Linked DNA regions of Homo sapiens: region 2 is linked to region 1. Evidence: promoter capture Hi-C in human tissues and cell types (Jung and others, 2019). All regions are on one chromosome and are shown on one strand. Each heading gives the region's core, a stretch centred on a gene start or on the middle of the fragment in contact. The rest is flanking DNA. Distances are from core to core; before and after follow the strand shown. Region 1 holds the start of CATSPER3 (cation channel sperm associated 3). Region 2 overlaps PCBD2 (pterin-4 alpha-carbinolamine dehydratase 2).

Evidence for each region. The method cuts DNA at HindIII sites, captures the fragments that hold promoters and counts their contacts. A contact is called where the count stands out against the background at its distance.
Region 2: a contact is called between a fragment that was not itself captured here and the fragment with the promoter of CATSPER3 in region 1, in 1 of the 25 tissues and cell types used here (thymus).

What each region holds. Positions count from the first base shown.
Region 1 is chr5:134,965,631-134,971,632 of GRCh38, forward strand. It overlaps CATSPER3 (cation channel sperm associated 3), which reads left to right and starts at 2,277. Exons shown (of 8, transcript NM_178019.3): 1 at 2,277-2,459; 2 at 4,309-4,462. The coding sequence starts at 2,362. The HindIII fragment of the contact is 15,471 bases long and covers 1-6,002 here.
Region 2 is chr5:134,932,002-134,938,003 of GRCh38, forward strand. The region is part of intron 2 of PCBD2 (pterin-4 alpha-carbinolamine dehydratase 2); the gene reads left to right. Among named protein-coding and RNA genes, the nearest start is that of PCBD2, 30 kb to the left of the region's middle. The HindIII fragment of the contact is 5,267 bases long and covers 164-5,430 here.

The DNA of each region.
Region 1 (6,002 bases), core at 1,027-3,526:
TAAAGTCTTCATCATTGGCTTCAGAAACAGCATTCATCTGTGGCTGTGCTGATGTAGTACACCAAGAACAACTGGGCTCTTCTCTGTCACTTTCAGTGGGCTACCTTCCCTCACCTCTCCAAGCAGCATGAAAGAATTCTTTACATTTTTAATCTCTTTTTTGTTTTTCCCTGAAAGTATGCTTTGGTGCTTAAAGAGAGAAGTCACAAAAGTATACTACTGAGTTTCCTGGAGATGAAATCCTGTTGTCCCTAGCTATGTGAATGAGCACAGGGATCCCTGATGCCATTATTTTGTATATTCATACGGCACACACTTACTGAGGGCCTTCTGTGTGCCCTAGGGGATTGAGCACAGTGACATATCAGGGCAGGTAGAAACAGATGGAGAGCTGATGCGGGCTGTCTTAGAGCAGCTGCCCCAGGAGGCCCCTGTGGATGGATGTTGGGCAGGAGCCCTGAGACGTTAGGGGCATATAACTAAAGGACATAGCAGGAGTTATAGGAGGAGCTGATCCCTGAGGGAAACAATGAAGACGGAGAAGATGGGGCTAAAGTTTGAATTGTGGGGACATTAATCACAGTGATTCTTAAAACTTTGCTGTTGATGATTTTAAATGGAGAAAATGAGTACGTAAGATGTTATTTCCCAGTTCAGTATATTGGTTGCCCACAAAGTATTTTCCTACCATGAATGGTCATATATACTTGTTGTAGAATACCAGGGACAGCAGAGATGGTGGGGTAGTTACTTCCTTTTCTTACAGCCCAAGAACTTTGGTGTCCAGGAGATTGACCAATTTAGCCACTGAGCATTTAATACAACACAGGGCTACCCAGATCCCACTGTCCTGATTTGCCCTGAAAGCCAAAGGAGTTAGGAGAAGGTGAGTGGGGAGAATATATTAATCCTGAGAGTTGAACAGAGCAAAAATCCCTATTACTTTTGTACTTAAAACATCTCTGCCACATGTGCTCACTCTTTATATTCTGTTTAGGTGGTTTATATGTGCACATCCCATCCTATGCCTGCAGTTAGCCAACTCAGGGTTTATATTGCCTCCTTTCTTTTTTTCTTTTTTTTTTTTTTTTTAAGAGATGGGGTCTCATTCTATCATGCAGACTGGAGTGCAGTGGTGTGATCACAGCTCATTGTAACCTCCAACGCCTGGACTAAAGTGATCCTCCTACCTTGGCCTCTCTGGTAGCTGGGACTACAGGTGCATGCCACCACACCCACCTAATTTTTTTTATTTTTATTTTTTGTAGAGACAGTCTCACTATCTTGCTCAGGCTAGTCCTGAACTCCTGGGCTCAAGTTATCTTGCTGCCTCAGCCTCCCATGGGTAATTTTTATTTCCTTTTTTTTTTTTTTTGGAGATGGAGTTTCGCTCTTGTCGCCCAGGCTGGAGTGCAATGGCACGATCTTGGCTCACTGCAGTCTCCACCTCCTGGGTTCAAGTGATTCTCCATCCTCAGCCTCCTGAGTAGCTGAGATTACAGGCAACTGCCACCATGCGCGGCTAATTTATGTATTTTTTTTTAGTAAGAGATGGGGTTTCACCATGTTGGCCAGACTAGTCTTAAACTCCTGACCTCAAGCGACCTGCCTGCCTTGGCCTCCCAAAGTGCTGGGATTACAGGCATGAGCCGCTATGCCTCGTCGCTGATTTTTATTTCTTATTTTTTTTTTAGAGATGGGGGTCTCACTATGTTGCTCAGGCTGATCTCAAACTCCTGGCCTCAAGTGATCCTCCCACCTTAGCCTCCCAAGTTGCTGGGATTATAAGTGTGAGCCACTATCCCTACCTCACTATTACCTTCTTTGCTTCTCTTGTTTTCTTTTGTTCTAAGTCAAACCCATCACAATCTTTTCTTGTCCTTCCAGGTGTTTTCCAGTGCTGTGCCCTGGATGTGCTCTCTTTCTCTTAGAGCCCAGAGAACTTGCTTTTCCCCCTTATATATGACCCTTAACTTTTTCTAACACATTATTAAGGGCCTGTGTCTATCAGCTGGGGGCACTTCTTGAAGGGAGGGCCTTTGTGTGGTCTGTTTCTAGTGACTTCCAGCTTTAACCCAGAGCCTCATGATTGCTGGGTGCCCATAGCCTTTTTGCTGAATGGAGGCACTCAGTCTCCTTGGGAAGAGAGAATCCATGATAGACCCACTTGGGAGCTCCCCACTTCAGGGGCCTACACACTGGTAATGCAACAGAATGCCCAAGAGTGACCTCATAAAGCAAGGATTCCCTTCGTGGCCCCTTCTCTGCTGCCTCTCAGAATCCAGACGCTAAGGAAAATCCCTAAGCAGAGATTTTCTGTTGGATGCTAAAAGCAAGGAATAAAAGTTGAAAATTTGGAAAATGTCTCAACACCGTCACCAGCGCCACTCGAGAGTCATTTCTAGTTCACCAGTTGACACTACATCGGTGGGATTTTGCCCAACATTCAAGAAATTTAAGTAAATATTATCTATCTCCATTGCCTGTTAAGAAATGTGCTAGTAGAAGTGTGAGGGCAGGGTGTCAGTGTTCTCTCAGCCTCTTCCCTCAGATACTCGTCTGCTTACCAAAATAAGTTGCATGTCCTTGACAATCTGGTTTCTATGATTGGTGAGGCTGGCATGCTATTACCTTTATGTGCCCTGTAGACTTGAATGACCAGTTTGACCAGTTTGACTGTTAGATAATCTGAAGGCTTTTCTCTTTTTTTATAATAGACCCCATCTCAAATCAGATAATGAAAATTACATATCTTGATATATTAGAAAAGTATATACATTCTGGCTGGGCACGGTGGCTCACACCTGTAATCCCTGCACTTTGAGAGGCTGGGGCGGATCACTTGAGGTCAGGAGTTTGAGACCAGCCTGGCCAACGTGGCGAAACCCCATCTCTACTAAAAATACACAGATTAGCCCGGAGTGATGGTGTGCACCTGTTGTCCCAGCTACTCAGGATGCTGAGGCAGGAGAATCCCTTTAACCTGGGGGGCGAAGGTTGCAGTGAGCCAAGATTGCACCACTGCACTCCAGCCTGGGTGACAGAACGAGACTCTGTCTCAGAAAAAAAAAAAAAGAAAAGGAAAAAGAAAAATATATATTCTATATTTTTTTAACTTATGAGAATGTGTTCATTTCATTTGTAACATATAATGGGAAACAGTAATACGTACTCTGAGAAAAATTGCAAAGCACAGATAAATGGAAATAAACAGGAAAAAGAATCACCTATAACCTCACCATCCATAGACAGACACTGTTAAAATTTTGGCATATTTCCTGCTGATTTTTTCTACTGCTGATTTTTGCACAGGTGAGATAATTTTGAACAGAGAATTTTGTATCTTTGGTTTTTGTGTTTTGCTGCACACAAAAACAAAAGATATAAAAATGGATCATAAACATTTTTCTAAATCCTGAAAAATGCATAGACATATTTTAGTGCCTGTATTTCACAAGATGGACATACCATAATTTACTTACACAGTCCTTTTTGTTAGATGTTTAAGTTGTTTTCAAGCTTCTCAGTGCTGGAAAAAATACTGAGATAGACATGTTTAGTTGAAGTTATTTCATTTCAGGTTATATTATCTTGGGTCAGAGAATGAATGGTTCTCAGGCTTTTCAAAAGAGCTGGTCAGTTTTTATGCCTCTGGCAGTTTTTGAGAGTGCTCAATCATACTACACTGTTGCCAGCATTAGATCTTATCACATTTAAGTCATTGCTAATTTTATAAACAAAAACAATGGTTTTACTTTGCATCTCCCTGATTGGTATTGCTGTAGAACATATTTGGAGAAGTTTGTTTGTCTTTGGTGTTTATTTCATGAATAGATTGTGTGCCCATTTTCTCTTGGGGTATTCAGTTTTTTATTACTGATGTGAGCATGTGTATGGGTGATTATTTGATGATTATCAGTTTTGCTTAGTAGACTGGCAATATTTAGTCTTGCTGTCACTGTGTTCCCAGTGCCTACTAGATTGCTTGATATGTAGTTGCCACTCAATAAAGATTTGTTGAGTCAATGAAGATGACACTTTGTTTTGCTGGAGAAGGAGTGGTGACCATTCTTTTTCAGAGGTCCAGGGAGAGGGAGCTAAGTAACTGAGTGAGGACAGAGTATCCATGATCATCATATATATGTCAGTGGTCATTTATTCAACATCTCATTGCTATTTAAAAGTATATGTAAATTTATATTCACACAAGGGAGAAAGCAGAGCCTTGTCCCTACAAAAAGGTATGCATTTTATGGGGATCTAGCTCTATTGTGCTGTAACCATACTTCACATTCAACTTTTTGACAGGAGGAACGATGATGAATGTCGGGCATTTGTGAAGAGAGTCATAATGAGCCGTTTCTTTAAGATAATTATGATTAGCACTGTCACATCGAATGCGTTTTTTATGGCCTTGTGGACCAGTTATGACATAAGGTACCGCTTGTTCAGACTTCTTGAGGTAAGCAGACAAAATGGGTCCATTTTCTTCTTTTTTTAAAACATGCTTTATTTCTGGAAACATTATAAGATTTTTTTTTTTTTCCGAGACAGAATCTCACTCTGTCAGGCTGGAGTGCAGTGGCGTGATCTCAGCTCACTGCAACCTCCATCTCCACCTCCCAGGTTCAAGCGATTCCTCTGCCTTAGCCTCCTGAATAGCTGGGATTATAGGCACCCGCCACCACGCCCAGCTAATTTTGTATTTTTAGTAGAGACGGGGTTTCACCTTCTTGGCCAGGATGGTCTTGATCTCTTGACCTCGTGATCCACCCGCCTCAGCCTCCCAAAATGCTGGGATTACAGGCGTTAGCCACCATGCCCAGCCCATTATAAGATTTTAAGGGTATTTTGCTTCAAGAAATTTTCTGTAGAATTCTAAAAATACTCTAAAATCTGGGAAGAGGGTGGCAAGAGCAGCAGTGGTGACATGGTGGATTTTTTTTTTTTTTTTTTTTTGAGACAGAGTCTCGCCCTGTTGCCCAACCTGCAGTGCAATGGTGCTATCTTGGCTCACTGCAACCTCTGCCTCCCAGGTACAAGTGATTCTCCTGCCTCAGCCGACTGAGTAGCTGGGATCACAGGCACACACCATCATGCTTGGGTAATTTTTGTGTTTTTAGTAGAGATAGGGTCTTGCCATGTTGGCCAGGATGGTCTTGAACTCCTGACCTCAAGTGAGCTGCCTGCGTCGGGCTCCCAAAGTGCTGGCATTACGGGCATGAGCCATCGCGCCTGGCCAGTGACATGGTTTTTAAGTCTCCTTGAATCTCCTCTCAAAAACTGAGCAAGCCTGGGCAACAAAGTGGGACTCCTATCTCTCTTTTTTTTTGTTTTGAGACGAAGTCTCGCTCTGTCACCCAGGCTGGAGTGCAGTGGCGCAATCTCGGCTCACTGCAAGCTCCACCTCCTGGGTTCACGCCATTCTCCTGCCTCAGCCTCCCGAGTAGCTGGGATTACAGGCGCCCGCCACAACGCCCGGCTAATTTTTTGTATGTTTAGTAGAGATGGGGTTTCACCGTGTTAGCCAGGATGGTCTCAATCTCCTGACCTCGTGATCCGCCCTCCTCGGCCTCCCAGAGTGCAGGTATTACAGACGTTAGCCACTGTGCCCGGCCCCTCCCATCTCTATTAAAAAAAAAAAGTTGGGCATGGTGGTGCATACCTTGAGTCCCAGCTACTCTAGAGGTTTAGGTGGGAGAATTGCTTGAGCCTGGGAGTTCGAGGCTGCAGTGAGCTGTGATTGCACCACTGCACTCTGGCCTGGGCAACAGAGTGAGACCTTGTCCTAAACAACCAACCAAAAAAACCAGAGCAACTAGGTAGCAAAGCCAAGAACCCACAGGCAGCATTTACAACAAAACTGGTTAGTTTCCTTACTACAAGCCGTAAGAACTGAATAGTATGTCTCTGTGGGGAAAGAAACAGAGGGAAGCCATTATTTATTTATTAGAAAGTGTGATGGGCTGATGTGAGAACAGCATTTGATATCAGTAACAGTA
Region 2 (6,002 bases), core at 1,547-4,046, 33 kb before region 1:
GAGGGGAAAGTCACTTCCAGATAGGTCTGCAGAGAGCAGCTGAAAACTTTATTTGGAGAAGTGGAACTCTGCATACAGAAGATAAACATCGAAGCCACTAACCGTATAGCTGTGGATACAGATGCATAGAAGAGAGGGCCATTTTAATTCTGAGTTTCTTTAAACAATTTTTTTTTGTTTCTTTTTATTATTTTTTAAGAGATGGGGTCTCTGTTGCTTAGATTGGAGTGCAGCGACGTGATCGTAGCTTACTGTAGCCTCAAATTACTGGGCTCAAGCGATCCTCCTACCTCCGCCTCCTGAGTAGCTGGGACTATAGATGCATGCCACATTGCCTGGCTAATTTTTTTTTTTATTTGAGTTGTAGTCTTGCTCTGTCACCCAGGCTGGAATGCAGTGGTGCGATCTCAGCTCACTGCAACCTCCGTCTCCTGGGTTCAAGCAATTCTCCTGCTTCAGCCTCTCAAGTAGCTGGGATTACAGGGATGCGCCACCACGCTCAGCTAATTTTTGTATTTTTAGTAGCAACATGGATTCACCATGTTGGCCAGGCTGGTCTTGAACTCCTGACCTCAAGTGATCCCCCCTGCCTTCTCAGGCAGGGATTATAGATGTGAGCCACCATGCCCACCCCTGGCAAATTTTTTAATTTTACTTTTTTTTGTGGAGATGGGATCTCACTATGTTGCCCAGGCTGGTCTTGAATTCCTGGCCTCAAGCGATCCTCCCATCTTGGCCTCCCAAAGTGCTGTGATTACAGGCGAGAGTCACCACACCTGGCCAATTCGGAGTTTCTTAAACTATGATTCTGTTATGTAAGCTTGTGGGTGAGTCTCTTCCATTTTTCTATGTGTTTAAAACTGTGAGCTTTAAATAGAAGGGTTTAACATTTATAGGTCACTCATACTCCACAGAGATCCACATCCACCAGGCCTCTCATTCTAATAGGAATGATACCCTCCTGTTAACATTTGAGTGGCATGTTCAGCTGGTAAATAAATTTTTTTTTATGATTGCATAATATGTTTTATAATTTGGAAAACAGAAAAGTATAAAGAAGAAAAATATACCTGTAATCTTTCTGCTCACTTAAAAACGCTGTGAATGTGCATTTGTGTGAATGTTTATGTATGTATATATATTTGGGATCATATTATAGATATTTTTGGTCAGTTGCTTCTTTCATTTCATGTATAGTGAATATTTTCACATCAGTAAAATATTTTACCTCATGATTTTTTGTTTTGTTTTTTGAGACAGGGTCTCACTGTGTCACCTATGCAGGATTCAGTAGTGCCATCTTGGCTCACTGCAGCCTCTATCTTCTGGGCTCAGATGATCCTCCTACCTCAGCCTCCTGAGTAGCTGGGACTACAGGCATGCGCCACCACACCCGGCTAATTTTTGTATTTTTTGTAGAGACTGGGTTTTGCCATATTGCGCAGGCTGGTCTTGAACTCCTGGGTTCAAGCAGTCCACCCACCTCAGCCTCCCAAAGTTCTGGGACTGTAGGCATGAGCCACTGCAGCTGGCTTACCACACGATTTTGAATGGTGGGAGATATATAAATTATTCCATTGAACAAAAAAGCCATATTTAATTTAGCCAATCCCTTTCTACGGTAACCATCCTCACAGAAGAGGCTTTGTGAGCCCACCTTTTCTAAATGCTCCGTATTAATGCTGTCAGTTGGACACAAAAGTGTCAGGGAGCTGTACTGGGTAGTTCTTGCTAAATATACTCAGGATCTCCATGCCCATTGAGATCAGGAATAGATCCAGTCACCTGTTAAAAAAGTAAATAGAAATCATCACCTAGATAGAATTGATCCATTGAAGCTAAAAAATCAAGCCCTTCAAGTTACTTGAGACAGCCAGAAGGAAAATGTTATGTTATAGGGCTTTGTAGCCACCATTCTCACAGCTTAGTGCAATGGTGTAGGAAATATTTTCACAGAAATATTTCTCTTTTAGAGAGTTTTTTCGGATAAAGAAGGCTTGTTTAATTCAGGAAGAGTTATTTCATAGGAAATTAAATCTTTGTAAATCCTCTATCACATTTCCACACTTGCTAGTTCTGTGGCAAATGATGGCTTTCGAGTGGTTCAGGAAGGGTTTCCTGAAAGCAAACAATTCCATGTTTTATACATATTTGTGTTTTTATTTTTGAATTGGATAAGTAAGGGACATGTACTTTCCCCTTTGTATTTGTCTCTGGGTGATATTGCTGGTTCTCAAACTCAGAATGGTAATTAATTACTTATAATGATTTTAAAAAAAAAAATTTCACTTGGTGAAAATGTTTTCTTGGGCCCGATGAATGACCCCAAAGAACTTTTACAACACAACCAGTAATGTTGGGCAGGTGCTGGAGAGTGGCTGCTGCTTAGAGATCAGTAATTGTTACATCATGGTTTGGTATGCTCCGTGGTGTCTAATCAGGTCGTGTGCTTGGGAACCATGAAATAATTCTCTTTTCAAGTCTTAGTGCATCATTTTTTCTGACATTGATCAAAGATTGGAAAACTAGTATTATATTTGTAGCCACGGTATTCATAACTGTCTTACATTCTTAATCTTTCGGCTTTTTGGTTGAAATACATCTATGCCTCTTAAATATTGAAGGCATAATATCCTTTAACCTACAACTGCAGAGTTAAAATGAATTTTATGTGAAATATTTAGTTGTGGACCACATCTTCAGCTTTTTATATGCCACAGTGGTCTTGTTTTTTTCCCTTCCATTGTCTGATAGTGAGGTCATTTTCAGTCCTCTGAGAAATTCTATTCCCAGCCAGATGCGGCTCATATATTAAAAGTAGCACCTGTGGCTAATATCACAGCAGCTTACCATAAATTTACATGGTAACTAGGATTATATCTGTCAAGACTGTTAAAAAACATCTAGATTTAATTTGATTTCCAGTATTGTAGAAGCTATCCAACATTTTGCTTCATAACTATATTTTAAAAGTTAAAAATCACTCCATTGTTAAGTTTTATAGCACTCCTAGTGCCCATTAAGTTGATTTGTTCAATGGAGGTCAGAGTAAAGCAACTTGGCTACATTAAGATCGGAAACCAACCCATTTGTGACAAATTTAGTCCTTTCGTGTGAATCTTCTCAATGTTTCTGCACTGATTGGATTCAGGTGTAGCTTATGTCAGTAGCATTTAACCTCAAAAGAATGAGCAATCTGATTGGGTTGTTGTAAATTATGAAGCATTTTGCTTTTGCTGGTTTAAATGTAACTGTTGACTCTGCTGCCCGTGCCTGACTGCGCCACTGCATCTGCCTAAACAGGAGTGGTTTGGGTTTGAAGACATCTTAGAAAATTGGGTACATGCCCTCATCCCTTTCCCTCCTTTATGTGACCTTCCTAAACTCCTTTATTCCCCATTATCCTTTGAGTCATCTCCCACATGTTACGATTTGCACACCTGCAGTTATAAAATTATTTTGGGGTGTCATTATATCATGTTGTTCACCAACTTTCCAGCATTTATGAATGCAATAATGATTCACTGTAAATCAAAATAATTTACAAGTTACAGAGAATCTGCTCCTACAAATAAGAATTGAATGATGAATTTCTTTGGTGTCCTCTCATTTGACAAAGAAACTGATAACATATTTCTTTGTATTTGTAAAATTTAGCTAGCAGTCCAGAATGGAATTAAAAGTATAAGTTCAACTTTCTGGAAATTTTGTGTTTTAAAACATGTTAAAAAATATAAACCAGTTAAGAAATAAGCAAAGTCTGTTTCCTCATTAATAGTTGCAATTGGCTTGGCAGTCATCTTGCTCCTGAATGAGACAGTTGTCATGTTAAGTGTTGGCGCCGAGGCTAGGGCAGCGTGCGTAGCCCTGAGTGGAAATGCCTGCTTTAAGCTGGAACTCAGTGTGGAGGTTCTTTCTGCTCTGTTGATCTTTCTGGAGGGAAGTTGTAAGCTTCTTTGGCCTGGGTCTCACTAAGGAAGTGGAACGGCAGCCAAGAATTATTATGCTGAAAATGTTGTGGTGATAGAAAAAAGATGATTAGAAGTGAGGCTAAAATTATAATTTAATATGTTACCAAGTGTAATTAGTCACTTAACAGTATAAGAAAATACCATTAATAACTGATGTGGAACCTTGTAAAATATTTCTTGGCGAATTTTAATGTCTTTTTTGTGTACTTAGGATCAGTTGAGCCCCGTGGGTAACTTGGGTGCCCTGTTTGTGACCCTGGCTTGCTGTGCAGGTTCCCCTTGGACATCTGTGGAGAGGAAGAGTAAGAAGGAGATGGCTGTGCCCAGCCCCGGCCTCTCACACAGCCTTCTGGATTGTTTTACCTCTGCTCCTTCACTCCTTAATAGCTCTCTGTGGTTAACCTTTCTGTCCTCCTCAGTCGCACTGGACGCTCCTTGAGGAACGGGAGCTGTGACCAGGGCCAGAGCCCAGGAAGGTGCTGGGTACAGAGCAGCAGATTGGTAACTGTTTATATCACATGCTTTCAGGAACAGACTGTTGGGAAGATTCTGGGATTTCCAGACATGTTAAAGGTTTCAGATCCTGTGTGGAAAGCAGAAACGTAAGAAACTGATAACTTGTTTTGCTGACCATGATCCTTTTTCTCTTCAGGTCATCCATTGCAGTATGATTTTGTTTCTAAAGGTATCAGTTAATGTTCTGAAGGGGACAGGATTCATGACATGCTGGTGATAAGGCTGCTTGCCAGGTAGCTACCTTTAAGATCCCCGAATTTAGCCTAAAAGGGCCCAGGAGCTGCATCTGTCCAGTGGCCAAAGACAGAACCTTAGAAGGTTGATTTTGAGAATAGAAGACCTGCTTGTTTTCAGGGAGAAGCATTATTTCTCTCTTCAACTCAGAGATGAGTTAAATCCTAAAATGATCATTGAAGTGCACATTGCCAGATTTTGTCACTCATTAGTGCCCTATTACCTTAGGTATAGGAAAAATGGCTATAATTTAAAACCAAATGAGCCAATTTTATAGCACTAAATAGGTATAAACTACTTCTGTGTGCATTGACTTAAAAGGCAATGTTTAGCTTGGTTCTTTCATAATTAACATTCCATGTTGAAAAATAAAAACTGGTATTGACTTTATTTTTATTTAGAATTTCGTTTTAAGCTATGTAAAATAGTATTGCATATTTGTTTTTTCAGATTTCAGATTATAATACATAAGTAAAGCATTTATTTCTTCTAATGAAATCCTTATTTAGCAAATTTTGGCTATTATAATAATATGGTTACTATTGGATGAACAGATATATCCATTTTACATGAAAATATTTTTTTCATTCCATCTACAGATATTTCTTTTTAAAATACATGCAACTTTTCCCTTACTAAAAAAGATGAATTTTATTTGAGAAATCAGTTACTTTGGTATTCTGAGACTAGGTTATAAATCTAATATTGCAGTGTTTTAGGACTATAATTAAGAATAGGTTCTGCTGGTAAATGTTGGAAAGAGGCAAAGAAGAAAGTTACAATACATTGCCTATTTACCAATTAACCATTACCTGCCAAAAGCACATCAGACTCACACAGCGGACATCCGCTAATCCAGTGGTTAGCTGTTCCGGGCTCTAATGCACACTGTTTTACACGTTAACGGTTTTGAAGTTCCAGGCCAAAGCTGACCTTTCACATGTGCTCCGTTCACAGTAGGAATCTCCACTCACTGCTTCCTGTCAGAATGGATTATGGTGACACAGCCCAGGGCCCACTTTGGCTGCAATTAAGTTTTTGATCAGAATTATTTCGTTCACAAACAATCACATTTGTTAAAATGTTACATCTGCCCTGAGAACCACTGGCAGACTCTCAGTTTATCAGTCTGATGCAAGCGTAAGTCTTCATTTGTTTTTCATAAAATGGCAAACCATCTTATACATGTTATTTAATTTTATTTTTTTCTTTTGTTGGTTTCTGCCTTTCATTTCATTGGGCTTGGAAGGAAACTGTGTCTTGAAATTAGTCTGAAGCCGC